Regions from separate parts of the Homo sapiens genome. Here regions 1, 2, 3 and 4 are each linked to region 5. Evidence: promoter capture Hi-C in 16 types of primary human blood cells and fetal thymus (Javierre and others, 2016). All regions are on one chromosome and are shown on one strand. Each heading gives the region's core, a stretch centred on a gene start or on the middle of the fragment in contact. The rest is flanking DNA. Distances are from core to core; before and after follow the strand shown.

What was found. The method cuts DNA at HindIII sites, captures the fragments that hold promoters and counts their contacts. A CHiCAGO score of 5 or more calls a contact.
Region 1: the fragment with the promoter of USP44 here is called in contact with the fragment with the promoter of SLC25A3 in region 5 in 4 of 17 cell types (non-activated CD4 T cells, activated CD4 T cells, naive CD8 T cells and 1 more); the score reaches 8.6 in non-activated CD4 T cells.
Region 2: a contact is called between a fragment that was not itself captured here and the fragment with the promoter of SLC25A3 in region 5, in 1 of 17 cell types (total CD4 T cells). The highest score is 6.6, in total CD4 T cells.
Region 3: a contact is called between a fragment that was not itself captured here and the fragment with the promoter of SLC25A3 in region 5, in 1 of 17 cell types (non-activated CD4 T cells). The highest score is 6.2, in non-activated CD4 T cells.
Region 4: a contact is called between a fragment that was not itself captured here and the fragment with the promoter of SLC25A3 in region 5, in 1 of 17 cell types (total CD4 T cells). The highest score is 6.1, in total CD4 T cells.

What each region holds. Positions count from the first base shown.
Region 1 is chr12:95,550,008-95,552,809 of GRCh38, forward strand. USP44 (ubiquitin specific peptidase 44) reads right to left here and starts at 1,469. Exons shown (of 6, transcript NM_032147.5): 1 at 1,265-1,469. The HindIII fragment of the contact is 4,508 bases long and covers 1,181-2,802 here.
Region 2 is chr12:95,567,920-95,570,655 of GRCh38, forward strand. No RefSeq gene overlaps it. Among named protein-coding and RNA genes, the nearest start is that of USP44, 18 kb to the left of the region's middle. The HindIII fragment of the contact is 4,783 bases long and covers 1-2,736 here.
Region 3 is chr12:95,533,186-95,535,885 of GRCh38, forward strand. It overlaps USP44 (ubiquitin specific peptidase 44), which reads right to left. Exons shown (of 6, transcript NM_032147.5): 2 at 1-1,141. The coding sequence starts at 1,071. Among named protein-coding and RNA genes, the nearest start is that of USP44, 17 kb to the right of the region's middle. The HindIII fragment of the contact is 2,195 bases long and covers 161-2,355 here.
Region 4 is chr12:95,510,358-95,513,057 of GRCh38, forward strand. It overlaps METAP2 (methionyl aminopeptidase 2), which reads left to right. Exons shown (of 11, transcript NM_006838.4): 9 at 1,538-1,641; 10 at 2,444-2,559. Among named protein-coding and RNA genes, the nearest start is that of METAP2, 38 kb to the left of the region's middle. The HindIII fragment of the contact is 4,818 bases long and covers 1-2,700 here.
Region 5 is chr12:98,592,412-98,595,111 of GRCh38, forward strand. It overlaps SLC25A3 (solute carrier family 25 member 3), which reads left to right and starts at 1,275. Exons shown (of 8, transcript NM_002635.4): 1 at 1,275-1,329; 2 at 1,564-1,724. The coding sequence starts at 1,568. RefSeq lists enhancers at 797-1,016, 1,065-1,689, 1,267-1,366, 1,690-2,314. The HindIII fragment of the contact is 3,126 bases long and covers 575-2,700 here.

The DNA.
Region 1 (2,802 bases), core at 219-2,718, 3.0 Mb before region 5:
GTCTCTACTAAAAATACAAAAATTATCCGGGCCTGGTGGCGGGCACCTGTAATCCCAGCTACTCGGTAGGCTGAGACAGGACAATCGCTTGAACCCAGGAGGCGGAGGTTGTGGTGAGCCTAGATCCACAATTGCACTCAAGCCTGGGCAGCAACAAGAGCGAAACTCCGTCTCAGAAAAAAAAAAAAAAAAAAAAAATCTGATATAACACAGGAAGTTCTTATGTTAACAAAATAGATACAAAATAGCAACAATGTCTAATCAATTCATGTTTGAAAAAAATACCAAATATGTACATTAAGGTTACAACTGCATAAAATGTAGTCATGCAAATAAAGATTAAAGGGATGAATTTGCATAGTTTAATACTCATTTTGTTCTTTTTTCTATATATTTAAGTGCATAATAATTCTGATTCAATAATGACCCCAGTGCACTTCTCCCACTCAAAACATCTAACCTCTATGTTGTACTTTTGCCCACCACCTGAATTTCTCAAATGCATTAAAAGCATTACATGAGGGCATCTCTTAAGATGAAATATTTAAAATTTAAGTATTTCTGGCATGCAATATGGTTTTTCCTGTAATTCCTTGAAAGCAAAATATTAATAATAGAAAAATCAAAACTCTTGCTTTCCTATTATAATGCCATAAAACCATTCTGGAAGGTCGTTTGGGAGATAGGAAGAGTCTTAGTTGCCTCCCTCTGATCTAGTAATTGGGCGGGGTCTTTTAAGGACTAAAATGATGTGAATAAATGAAGAGAAAAAGTGAAATGGGAAGAAAAGCAAAGGCAAGCTGTGTAAGGCATAGGTGGAGAGTGCTGAATAGTGTCTTCAATAAAATGCCTTAATACAATGATGTAAGCTAGGAAGAGGTGCGGAGTGGGAAGGGAAGAGGCTGGAGACAAATTCTCATTACTAGTGTTAGTAATTAAAGAGCAGATGTTTGTAGTTTAGCTTTTTCTTCATACTTATTACTACTTATTCAACTTTGAAATTTCCTCAGCTACCATTTTATTCATGATCTTCACTATCTAGGCCTAAATTATAGCATGCTCTAGCTCATTTCCTGAGCTCCAGAACCTCTCTATTGCAATTTTATTTTTACATAGCAATCATAGTCATTCTTCTCCTTAAATTTTCCTATTTGTTTTTTAACCCGTCTCATCGAATCTAAGCTTTTTACTGTAACATTAAAAAAAAGAAAAGAAAAAAGCCTCCTTCCCTGCCCACCTTCATCAATGATGTCCCCAAACTTACCTATTAAAACCTCAAAATCAGTCTTTCCCCAGGTCGGCCTTTGGATAACTCAGAGGTCAGTCCCTGCAGGATCGCCCAGTTTCCATCAGGGCAAATGCTGATCTCCTAAGTGAAAAGTCCTGGCGGCTGCCTCCAGTGCCCCCCTGCAAATCATTACAAATCAACCTCTTTCAGGTTTGGCTTAAACTCTCACCTCCTGGAAACTGCTTTCCTGAAGTCACAAACCGGGCGTGCAGATCCCCATCCCCCACCCCCAGCAGTGCATTATTATGCAGTCACTGCTTTTGTTCCGAGTTCTGAGCCTGCTTCTATTTGCATCGTAACCTCTTTGGGGGCCGGGACTGTGCACTTGCTCCCTTTCTATACCTCTCCACAGTTCCTAGTACCGGCCAAAAACACTGCTGAAATGCCTAATGAATCAACCAGAAGTTCCTTAGCATAATATAGGAGCGTGGAAGTGATGTTTAGGGGGGCTTCCCTTGCTTCCCTGATCCCCAGATGGAGAGAAATGGCAATTTGCCCTTCCAAGGTAAGCAGTTTCCTAAACCAGATAAAATTTTAACGATTCTGAAACCTAATGGATGTGTAACTACTCAATTCTGAGTTACTACACAAACAGTTTTGCCCTTTGTATCCTGAGAGAAAAGTACGAATGAATTAAAAGAAGACAAAACATTGTAAATTTCATAAACCTCAGAGTGGCTTTTTATGCTTTATGTCGATTTTTAGAATTTCCTAGTCCAGTCTTTCATGAATCGAAGAATATTTCAGGAATCATAATTGCAGACTAAAGAATTTATGAGCTTGTGAAATTTTAGGAATCACTTTTAAGACTTTTCAGAGTTTTACAGACAATGCTCTTACCTAATAACTAATATTCGCTTAACATTTTTTTCAACACCTAAATGCCTGGCACCATGCTAAGCATTGAGATATTCATAGCATTCATTTCAATGGTTATGAGGAGATGAAGGATTGAGCAGAGGAAGTGGGTAAAGAAACGCTAAATAACTCAGCCATAAACTTTTGATTAAGGTGTAGCAACACACTTCAGTTGAACTTTTTAAATGAGAGGAACCCAAACGACCTTAAATTTCTGGCAAATATGAAAGAAAGGAGTTGAGAAAAAAGGAGTATGGAAAAAAGAGCAGCAGATGTAAGCTATGGCCTTAGTGGAGGAAAGTGAGTAGAAGGGGCTTTAGAATTCGCCTTTTTTCTTTAATTCTAAGAATGAGGTTGGTAGCAGGTAAGGAAGGTAAATGCCAGCTGAGTAGATGGTACCAAAGTTGATTTGTTTTTAAAAGACCATTGTTTATTTGGTGGTCTGTCAGGGAAACTTGTACCTTGCAGGTGAATTTCCAACATAGGCCTACTGGAAACTGAAACCCTGAGCCCCAGGGTTTAGGTATAAATGGAAGCAAAATTGTGAAGTGAGTCCATTTCTCCCCCTTTTTAAACATAAACATCCACTCCACCTCCACCCTATACTCAGTTTTTCTTTTCTTTTCTTTTCTTTTTTTTTTTTTTTTTGAGACAGA
Region 2 (2,736 bases), core at 167-2,666, 3.0 Mb before region 5:
GTGAAACCCCGTCTCTACTAAAAATACCAAAAAAATTAGCTGGGCGTGGTGGCGGGCGCCTGTGGTCCCAGCTACTCGGGAGGCTGAGGCAGGAGAATGCGTGAACCTGGGAGGCAGAGCTTGCAGTGAGCCGAGGTCACACCACTGCACTCAAGCCTGGGCGACAGAGCGTGACTCCGTCTCAAAAAAAACAAAAAACAAAAAAAGTTCAGAAACATACATTTCTCTCTCTCTCTCTCTCTTCTTCTTCTTCTTTTTTTTTTTATGAGACAGAATCTCACTCTGTCACCCAGGCTAGAGCGCAGTGGTGCAATCTCAGCTCACTGCAGCCTCCACCTCCTGGGTTTGACTGATTCTCCCGCCTCAGCTTTCCAAGTAGCTGGGACTGCAGGAGTGCGCCACCACATCCGGCTCTCTCTCTCTCTCTTTTTTTTTTTTTTTTTTGTATTTTTGGTAGAGACAGGGTTTCACCATGTTGGCCAGGCTGGTCTCCAACTCCTGACCTCAAGTGATCTGCCCGCCTCGGCTTCCCAAAGTGCTGGGATTACAGGCATGAGCCACCGCGCCCAGCCTTTCTCTGATATTTTAAAATCATGACTCTATAATAGTTATTGGTGAATACAAAATGTTGAAAACCTCCGGTTTATACCTGCTGCCTCCATTTTGTTTTCTTTTTCTTTTCTTTCTTTTCTGTCTTTTTTTTTTTTTTTTTTTTTTTTTTTTTGAGACGTAGTCTCGCTCGGTCACCCAGGCTGGAGTGCAGTGGCGCAATCTCGGCTCTCGGCTCACTGCAAGCTCCGCCTCCCGGGTTCACGCCATTCTCCTGCCTCAGCCTCCTGAGTAGCTGGGACTACAGGCGCCCGCCACCTTGCCTGGCTAATTTTTTGTATTTTTAGTAGAGACCAGGTTTCACCATGTTAGCCAGGATGGTCTCGATCTCCTGACCTCGTGATGCGCCGGCCTCGGCCTCCCAAAGTGCTGGGATTACAGGCGTGAGCCACCGCGCCCGGCCACTGCCTCCATTTTCTTTATGTTTGCTTCTTCCTTAGCTGCCTACACTGAGGCTTCCCCTCTTACTGCTTTGGAAATGTTCTCTTGAAACAAAGCTACCAACAATTCCTTTCTTGTCAAATTCAAAAGCCACTGATTTTACTTCACTATTTGCCAACGCTGATCGTGCTTCTTTTCTTGAAACATTCTCTTCATTTTCACTGTCAGACCATACATCATCCTGGATGCATCCGGACAGAATGAGAACTGTGGCTGCTGCTGCTCCTACTGTAATTGTTACTCCTTTTACTTAGTAGTCATCTTTCCTTCACTGCTTACTGTAATTTCCACAGCAACCCTGAGGAGATCGGTATTATTATCCCCATTTTACAGTTGAGGAAACATGCTCAAAATTTAATCAACGGGTTCAAATTCACACACCAGAACAGGATCTGCTCTGGGAAATGTTAGATTTTGCAACGGAAAAGAAGAAAAAGTTTTTTCTAACTGGATCACAGCATACTATGTTGTTTATATTTAGATTAACTAGACTTTGTTTTATTCCATTTATCTGTAGTTTTGGGAAGTACTGTACATTTGGAAAGATGTCATTTCAAGTAATTTTTCTACCCAGGCTGTCCATTTACAATTACCTGGTCACCTTTGAATCACTTTCACCAAAATCAGAGAAGGTGGCTAGATAGCAAGTTGTGATATGCCACTGATTTTTTTTTCTCCCTTTTCAAGTTAAGTGGCTCCTGTAAGAATGGCCATGCAACCTTGGATTTATTCAGAGAATGCTCTAACCACATACACTACATCAAAAAGTATAGTCTCAGAATTTGACAGATGACAATAAAAATTTCCAATTAAACTATGTATTATAAATTGTTCAATTTTTGGCAGAGTGGATCTTATTGAAGGCACCATAATGATAAGGTAGGATTTAGTTACATACTTTAATTACATACATACTTTGTTTTCTCAAGCAAATGTGTAACAATGGTGTGATCTAGCTACAAAATATTTCCTTAAGATTTTTGTTGGCATGTCAGTGCTAACAATTAGGAATTAAGTGTTTTAAATTTAATCTGAAATTAGTGGTTTAAATACAATGATAAATGGTTTTCATGGTTGTCAGCCTTCATTTAATGTTATATTAAACCTCTTGAGTATGTTATACCACTACTTTGTTATTTAACTGATGGATCTGAAAACCCATAAAGATGCAGTATTTGTCTTACAAATAGCAAATGTATAGTCTTTGATTTGATCATTTAATGTACCCTTTTTTACACAGCCATTTGGCTTTAATCCTGTAACAGGTTATTGTCACTTGTCTTTTCTTTATCTACCAAAATGCCTTCAGTCATTTCATGAATAAATCAATGGAGGGAAGAGAGAAATATGAGTTATCCCAAAGATATATTAATGGCATTATTCCAATATAAATGGAATGAGGAAAAGAAGAATTATGCATTAGTAATGATGTTTTTCATTGCAGAGCAATTTCTACCTCGCAAAGGATTTTCATACAGATCCTCTTTCTTCATACTTAGCATTATATAGCTGAGGAAATTATAGTATTAAGTGACTTGTCTGAAGCCACACAGCAAGCATCAGATCTGGAATTAGAAAGCAAGTCTTCTCATGACCAGCCATTGTTCTTTTATAGTTTACCTTATAGATGGCATGAAAGTGACTTTTTTGTGGAATAGTTATTACAACTTCTCACCCCCCAATGTA
Region 3 (2,700 bases), core at 8-2,507, 3.1 Mb before region 5:
ACTTAGTCCTGATGACAGACTTGATTGTCTGGAGCAAACAAAACCTGTATCTTTTTCCTGACATTCATTCATTTGATATACTACTGTATCTGTGACTGGTGGATGCTTACAAGATCTTGTCTTCTCGCTAGCAGTCATAGCCAGCCATTGGTTCAGATCAAGCTTTAAAAAACATTGTCGAAAAATAAGTAAATGACTCAACACCTGAAGAACAGAATTCATATAGCAAGTATTTCCCAAATTTCTCAATCCTGTTACACCAGGAGTTACTATTGGCCTTCGTTTAACTGAGGAGTCACTGACTTTTTGAGATATTTCATTTTCTGAGGTAGAGAGTACTTTATCTTTTGCTGGTGATGCTGGCGTTTGTGCTGGCACCTGAACAGAAACTATTTCTATTATGGTCGACTGAGCGAGCCCTTGTAAACGTAAACTCTTTCTTGGAGGCATACTTTCCAATTCTGCTTTAACTTGATACTCCAATTCCTGCCGTCTTTTCTTTACTTCTCTTTTTACTACTATTTTTTCCTGAAATGGTTCTTCTTGCTTTTTTCTTCCAATGGGTGATTGTTCAAACCATGTTCGAAAGATTTTACCCATTAGTATCCTTCTCCTGTGCCAAAGAGCAGTATACAGTTGATCTTCACTTTGAAGCAGAGATTGGGCACCGTCATGTAAGAAATAAGAATCATCACCTGTACCCATGGACCGTAAAAACCTCCCACTACGAGTTGTGCAGTGATAATTTTGACTTTTGATGGCACTTAATGTACGTCGTAGTAACTTCAGGTCTCCAGTTGTGTTATCATTCAGAACATAATCATCACAAAGGTAACAAAAAACGTACATCTCATTCACCTCCAATGCAACAGGATGACTGCTTTCTTGAAAGTGCTTGAGTGCATGCTCTTCAATATATCTTCCACAGGCAACATGGGAGCAGCTAAGGCAAGCCCAAATGGACTCGGTCGTGTTGCAGTCCACACAGTGCCATTTCTGAGGGTTGAGGCTGGAATGGTCTTGAGCAAGCTGCAGCTGCCCAACATGTTTGCACGTATCCATTGCTAGCATTTATTTAGTCTAGCTGAGAAATGCATAATCCAAACAAGTCTCTGTTCACAACACTTGAAGCATCTGAAAACTAAACAGAACAATGTCAAGTGTTAATAACAAGATGCTAATATTTTTCATATTTTTTCCCAAGAATAATAAAGATTTGTGTCCTCTGCTCCCAATTTCTAGGCTGCTTATCATAATACCATTGGCAGTTCTCCCATTTCCCTTTCTCTAAACTTCCCTAACCTCACATCCACCTTGCTCTGAAAGCACAGACACTTCACTTTCTCTAATGAGGCGCCTTTAGCTTTTGTTTTTAACTTTCTGCCACCATCTAGTGGTGAAAAATGGGTAGTAATCACTTTCCACTGAAATAGCTTAAGATCTATCCTTTTTTACCCAGTAGTCTGAGGGCAGTTTCCAAAACTGCATTCCCTTTTTTTTTTTTTTTTGAGACAGAGTCTTGCTCTGTGGCCCAGGCTGGAGTGCAGTGGTGCGATCTCAGCTCACTGCAACCCCTGCCTCCTGGGCTCACGTGATTGCTGTGCCTCAGCCTCCCGGGTAGCTGGGATTATAGGAGTGCACCACCACATTCAGCTAATCTGTTTTTCGTATTTTTACTAGAGACAAGGTTTCGTCATGTTGCCCAGGCTGGTCTTGAACTCCTGAGCTCGGGTCATCTACCCGCCTTGGCCTCCCAAAGTGCTGGGATTACAGGCGTGAACCACTGTGCCTGGCCCCTTTTCTTAATGACAGGGGTTGGCAAGACCCAAATATATCTCACTAATATTTATAAACATTATGAGCCTTATGTGGAGTTAATAAAACATAATCAAAGATGAAAAGGTGAGTTTTAAGGCAGAAAAACATAGGTTTGAATTGTACCTTTGCCACACACTGTTAAATGTATGATTTTGAGCAAATGTTTTAACTTCTCTAAACCATCTGTAAAAGAGGGAAAATCATACCAACTTCAATTGAGTTGTTGAAGAACTGAGAGATAATATTTATCTGACACATGGTAAATGGTAGTTTTAATTGTATCTATAGTGAACGAATCTTATTACCCTATTTAAATAAATCATATTACCATTAAACTTATTTTTTTCCATTTGGTAAATCAATAATTACCTTTAATTCATGGCTCTATAACATACTCTGAGGCCGAACAGACTTGACAGTTGGCTTTAGGGAAAGAGAAAGACAGAAGAGGAGAATGTGCTTTTGTATTTGAATATTCTCAGAAACATACAAGGAAATAAAGAGAAAAAAAGGAAGAATATGAAGTGGGTGGCAATAAGCTTTTATTACATTCTAGCAGGCCTAAACCTATCTGAAATTATAAGCTTATTTTTTTAAAAAAGCTTATGTGATTTTTGACACAGAACTTGTTCCTTTATCAGTTAAAGTCAGGAACACTTCTGCTGTAAGTTATTTACATGTAATGAACAGAAATCTTATTTAAAAAGCCGTGATCACAAACACTTTTTTCATTGATTTAATACAAATCAAAGACAAATTTCAGGGTTTGGGTGGAGACCTAGTTACGGAACACTAAAAACACCCTATGTATCATGACCAAGGCATTAAATTTTTAGGGCAGTTGAAACTGTGAATTTCAACGGTACCTGCAAGTGCCACCTC
Region 4 (2,700 bases), core at 71-2,570, 3.1 Mb before region 5:
ACAGTGTTGGAGGCTGGGAAGATTGAGGGACTGGCATCTGGTGAAGGTCTTCTTGCTGCATCATCCTATGGCATTAGGCAGAAGGGCAATGAGAAGTTTGAGAGAGAGAGCAAGAAATGGTCAAACTTGTCCTTTACAGGGAACCCACTCCTGAGATAATGGCTTGAATTCATTGATGAGAGTGGTGCCTCCATGGCCCAAACTCCTCCTGTTAGGTCCCACCTCCCAACACCATCACACTGGGGATGAAATTCCCAATACATGACCTTTGGGGGATACATTCAAACCATAGCAGCAATACACTGCTTTCCAATTACAGCAGCCTGCCTCTAGTGAGCCACCATCTTGGCTTGTGGGGTCAGTTTGCCAGGTCTTAGAGAAATAGTAATGATGTCTGAATTTTAAAATATATTTAGCTTATCAGCACTGCAAGTATGAAAGGATTTTCATTTGCTTTTCTTTATGTCTTTACTACCTAATTATGCATCCCTAAACTAGTTTTATTGCCTAATTTTGAACTATTATATATATGTGGAATTGTACAGTATATATGTAATTGTGCCTTTTTCTGCTCATTTTGTCAGTTTTAAAACAACTGGAATAAAAAAGCTAGACGTTTTATTCCAGTTGTTAAATGTATTCCTAGCTTTTTGTTTTGATTGTTGAATGTTATTCCCTCGTGAATATGCCACAATTTGTCTATTCTGTCCTTGCTGTCATGACAGTGGGATGTTTAGATTTTCTTTCTTCTTTCTTACTTCTATTTCTTAATTACTGTGTCTCAGCCACATAGGTTTTCTTTTTGAACATTTGAAATGTTGATATAAAGTTTTATAATACTGTCATATTAACAGTATCTTTCACATTATCTTTTGGTCTGTAACAATACAAATATGTATTTTTTATGTTTCTAATAATTTGTGTACATGGCATTTTATTTGTTGTTAACAGTACCTCCTTATACCTCCTTAGATGACCTCCCTTGTGCCCTTAATCCTGTATTTCTTTCTTCCATCCTCCCTTCTAGCACCGTTTTTTTTTTTTTTTTTTTTTTTTGAGACGGAGTTGCTTTCGCCCAGGCTGAAGTGCAGTGATGTGATCTTGGCTCACGGCAACCTCCGCTTCCCGGGTTCAAGTGATTCTCCTGCCTCAGCCTCCTGAGTAGCTGGAATTACAGGCCCCCACCACCACACCCAGCGAATTTTTGTATTTGTAGTAGAGACAGGGTTTCGCCATGTTGGTCAGGCTGGTCTCGAACTCCTGACCTCAGGTGATCCGCTTGCCTCGGCCTCCCAGAGTGCTGGGATTACAGGCATGAGCCACTGCACCTGGCCTACTTCTAGTATTAATAACACTGCAACTACTTTTTATATTCCACTAGATTCCAGTTTATATTAAACTACCTTAATGTAAGGTTATTTAGTAAAGCCATACCTGGTTTTTGAATAAATGCTTGAACTCTGTACCAAAATGTAAGAGATCTGTTTTTGCTTCTTGAGATCCTGAATGACTTTTATTTCCCTATTTTTTATAACAGTGAAACCAATCCGTAATCTAAATGGACATTCAATTGGGCAATATAGAATACATGCTGGAAAAACAGTGCCGATTGTGAAAGGAGGGGAGGCAACAAGAATGGAGGTATGTGTGTCACTAACATTTTACTTCCATGGAAGACATTTTTTTCTTCCAAGCAGAAGGTCATGGTAGTTAAATATATGGTTATACTGACCAGAATTAGCTGCTTATCATCCATATTCACCCTGCCAGGAATTGGGCCATTTGAATTTGCAAATTGTGTATAGTCAGCACTAAATCAGTTGTGGAAATTGGGGCTGTGAAAGGGTTGTTTATTCAACATTTAATGAATATTTATTGAGCATTCTCAGGTGCCAGTCTCTTTATAGTAGGCTCTAGGGGTAGAGCTGTGAACATAATTCATAGGGGGAAGCAGAAAGACCAAAAAGTGCTAAGGAGATAAAGCAGGGCAAGGCTAGATAAGGACCGCCAGGGGCTATTTCATGTTGCTGCTTAATCAGGTAGAGACTTCAAGAGATGGTAATTGTAGGCCAGGCTCGGTAGCTCAGGCCTGTTAATCCCAGCACTTTGAGACACCAAGGCAGGCAGATCACCTGAGTGAGGTCAGGAGTTTGAGACCATCCTGGCCAACATGGTGGAACCTTGTATCTACTAAAAATACAAAAATTAGCCAGGCATGGTGGCACGTGCCTGTAGTCCCACCTACTCGGGAGGCTGAGGCAGGAGAATCGCTTGAACCTGGAAAGTGGAGGTTGCAGTGAGCCAAGATCTCACCACTGCACTCCAGCCTGGCAGCAGAGAGAGACTCTGTCTCAAAAAGAGAGAGAGAGAAAGAGAGATGGTAATTGTGATTCGTTCTGAATTTTTCTTCTTTCTCTCCCCTTGACCCTTATTTATTTTTCAGGAAGGAGAAGTATATGCAATTGAAACCTTTGGTAGTACAGGAAAAGGTGTTGTTCATGATGATATGGAATGTTCACATTACATGAAAAATTTTGATGTTGGACATGTGCCAATAAGGTGAGAGACGAGACGATTGATTTTATGTGGCTAATTAGCATCTCTTCTGAGTTAACAGCATTTCTAAAAAATGTGGCATACATACAAAATAGTATATTCATGAATGTAGAGTTCTGTAGCCCAACAATAAGAAAAAAAAAT
Region 5 (2,700 bases), core at 25-2,524:
TTGTTCATACATGTATTAAGAATTTCAAGCCGGGCATGGTGGCTCAGGCCTGTAATCCCAGCACATTGGGAGGCCGAGGTGGGCGGATCACCTGAGCTCAGGAGTTCGAGACCAGACTGGCCAACGTGACGAAACTCTGTCTCTACTAAAAATAGAAAACTTAGCCGGGCGTGGTTGTGCACGCCTGTAGTCCCAGCTACTCCGGGGGCTGAGACAGGAGAATCGCTTGAACCCGGGAGGCGGAGGTTGCGGTGAGCTGAGATCGCCCCACTGCACTCCAGCCTGGGCGACAGAGCAAGACTCCATCTCAAAAGAAAAAAAAAAAAAATCAAAATGACAGCAGAGCATTAAATGAAGTGTAAGGCCATGTGTGACTGTACCAGTGTGAACCTATGAGGCCAGTCCCACCCCTATCTTACATCTAGGGAACAGGTACACAGAGATGAAGTAAATTCCCAAGGTTACTTTGTCAAGAGCTTGGAAAATATAAGAGTCAGAAGTCTAACAGGTTGAATCCCTATTAAACTCTCCCCAACTAAACTACGCCCCTCCCTGTTGAGCTGAATCTAATGAAAGCTTCCTAAATGTATTAACCACACACACGCACAATCTGCTATCAGTCACTTTCAGTAGTTCATCGCTGTAACATCTCAGGAGTTCAATGTTTCAACGTGTTCTGTAGATTACTGTGATAACGCGGCAAGCTGTCGTAAGACTTCTTGCTGCACATTTCTTTTTAAAATATTCTCCAGGAGTCTGATGAAAAATACAGACATACCTATGTTTAATGTCAATGGATGGAACTTATTTTAAAAAGTACTGTAATGGCAGAAGTTGTGACACAAAGTACTGCAGTGATGTTGTAACTCCAACACCTAAATATATTATCAAGCATTCGCGTTTTGTTTTGTTTTTTAAGTGACTACTAGATACTGTGATTCACTTAAGTGAAGCGAACTGAAGCCCGTGGTCAAGGAGAGACACCTGAAGGTGAAGGGACAAAGCGAGCAGGGTAAGAGCTCGAGCCCGACCCCTCTCAAAAAATATAGACCCGGAACGCGCGCCTGCGCAGAACGAATCCTCCCGCGCACAAGCCGGGCGGAAGAGCTGGGGCGGGCAGGGGCGGGAATAAGGTTGCTAGGAGAACGCGATGACGCTACGGGCTCGGCGCTCTTCTCCACCAATGGGCGACGCGTACTTGCAGTGGCGCGCTGTGTGCGTCACGCCGACGACGCGCGAAGGGCACACATCTTAGGACCCGGAGGACGTCCGGCCTCTGTGAGCCGCAACCTTTCCAAGGGAGTGGTTGTGTGATCGCCATCTTAGGGAGTGAGTGTGGCCGGGCCTTCTCCTGTGGCGGGTGTGGGGAGCGGAGCCCAGAGCTCCTGTGGGGCCGCTGCTTTGGCGGTGGGCCCAGCCGGGAGCAGCCTCTTTCGAAGGCCGCCGTGACCTCTTCAAGGGCGTGGAGACGGGAAGGAAAAGGCCCCGGTTGGGGTTCCAGGGCGCCGGTAACGTTAACCGGCGCCTTGCCTGTCCTCTAACCGTCGCTCCCTCCTCCCCTAGAAAGATGTTCTCGTCCGTGGCGCACCTGGCGCGGGCGAACCCCTTCAACACGCCACATCTGCAGCTGGTGCACGATGGTCTCGGGGACCTCCGCAGCAGCTCCCCAGGGCCCACGGGCCAGCCCCGCCGCCCTCGCAACCTGGCAGCCGCCGCCGTGGAAGGTGAGATCAGACCCTGCCCAATACAGTCGTGTGGTCTACTTGTGGGCCGCCCAGCCTTTGAGGCCTGGACCCGGCTTGGAGGACAGGGAAGGACGAGTCCAGCCCGCTGCACCGTAGGACGGCGCCCAGTTGCTTGCCCTGGGGTATCGGCCTTTTCCACCATAGGCGGGTGTCAGATCCTTGGCCTTCCCTCAAGGGCGTGGAAGCGCTGAGGCCCTGTGTCCCTTCGTGACCTCCGTGTGCCCGAGGGAAGAGAGGCCGTGACTAGCTCTTTCTCCGCCGTGAGCTCGCTTGGTCAGCAAACTAAGTACTGGGTAAACTCTCCTCCCGAAACTACTGACCACCCACAGTTCTACTAACTATATTACCTGTCCTTTGATTTGCCCTTAGTTTTCTTAAAAATAGTCCTTTCCTAAGTTTTATATTTGTCGACGCCAGGTCAGTCATTTTTGCACTTAATTGTATATGAGATAACTAGATGTCCTGTTTTCGTGCGACTGGAGGAGGCAGCTTGCAGCCCTACATAGGCAATAGAAAGGAGATAATTGGTGGGCGTCCCTTTGGTGTGATTATCTCTTGGGATTCTTGGTGGTTGGGCCCAGCTTTAACTTAGTTGTGTGTGTTTTAAATCCTAGTGAAGTATGTACATACAGAGAAACCTGAAAACCGAATTGTAGGAGTCCTAAGAATGTTATCTACCTTGTGCCTGTAAAATCGAAAGATTTTTTTCTTTAAATCATTCATGTGCTTCTGTTGTCTTTAGTATGGATAGAGTCCTTATTTACACTATCTGTCGTTCAGTTTAAAAGTTAAAGCTAACATTATTTGTGTATTAAATGTATTTGACTGCAGGAATTTGTGCGTATCCGTTTTTATGTTACAGGAGTTCTTAAGTGGGGATAGTATTGGTTAGTGGCTGGGATAAACTTTGAAGTTGTTTGCAAGCCTTTTACATGTCGAGTGATCTTTCTGAGTT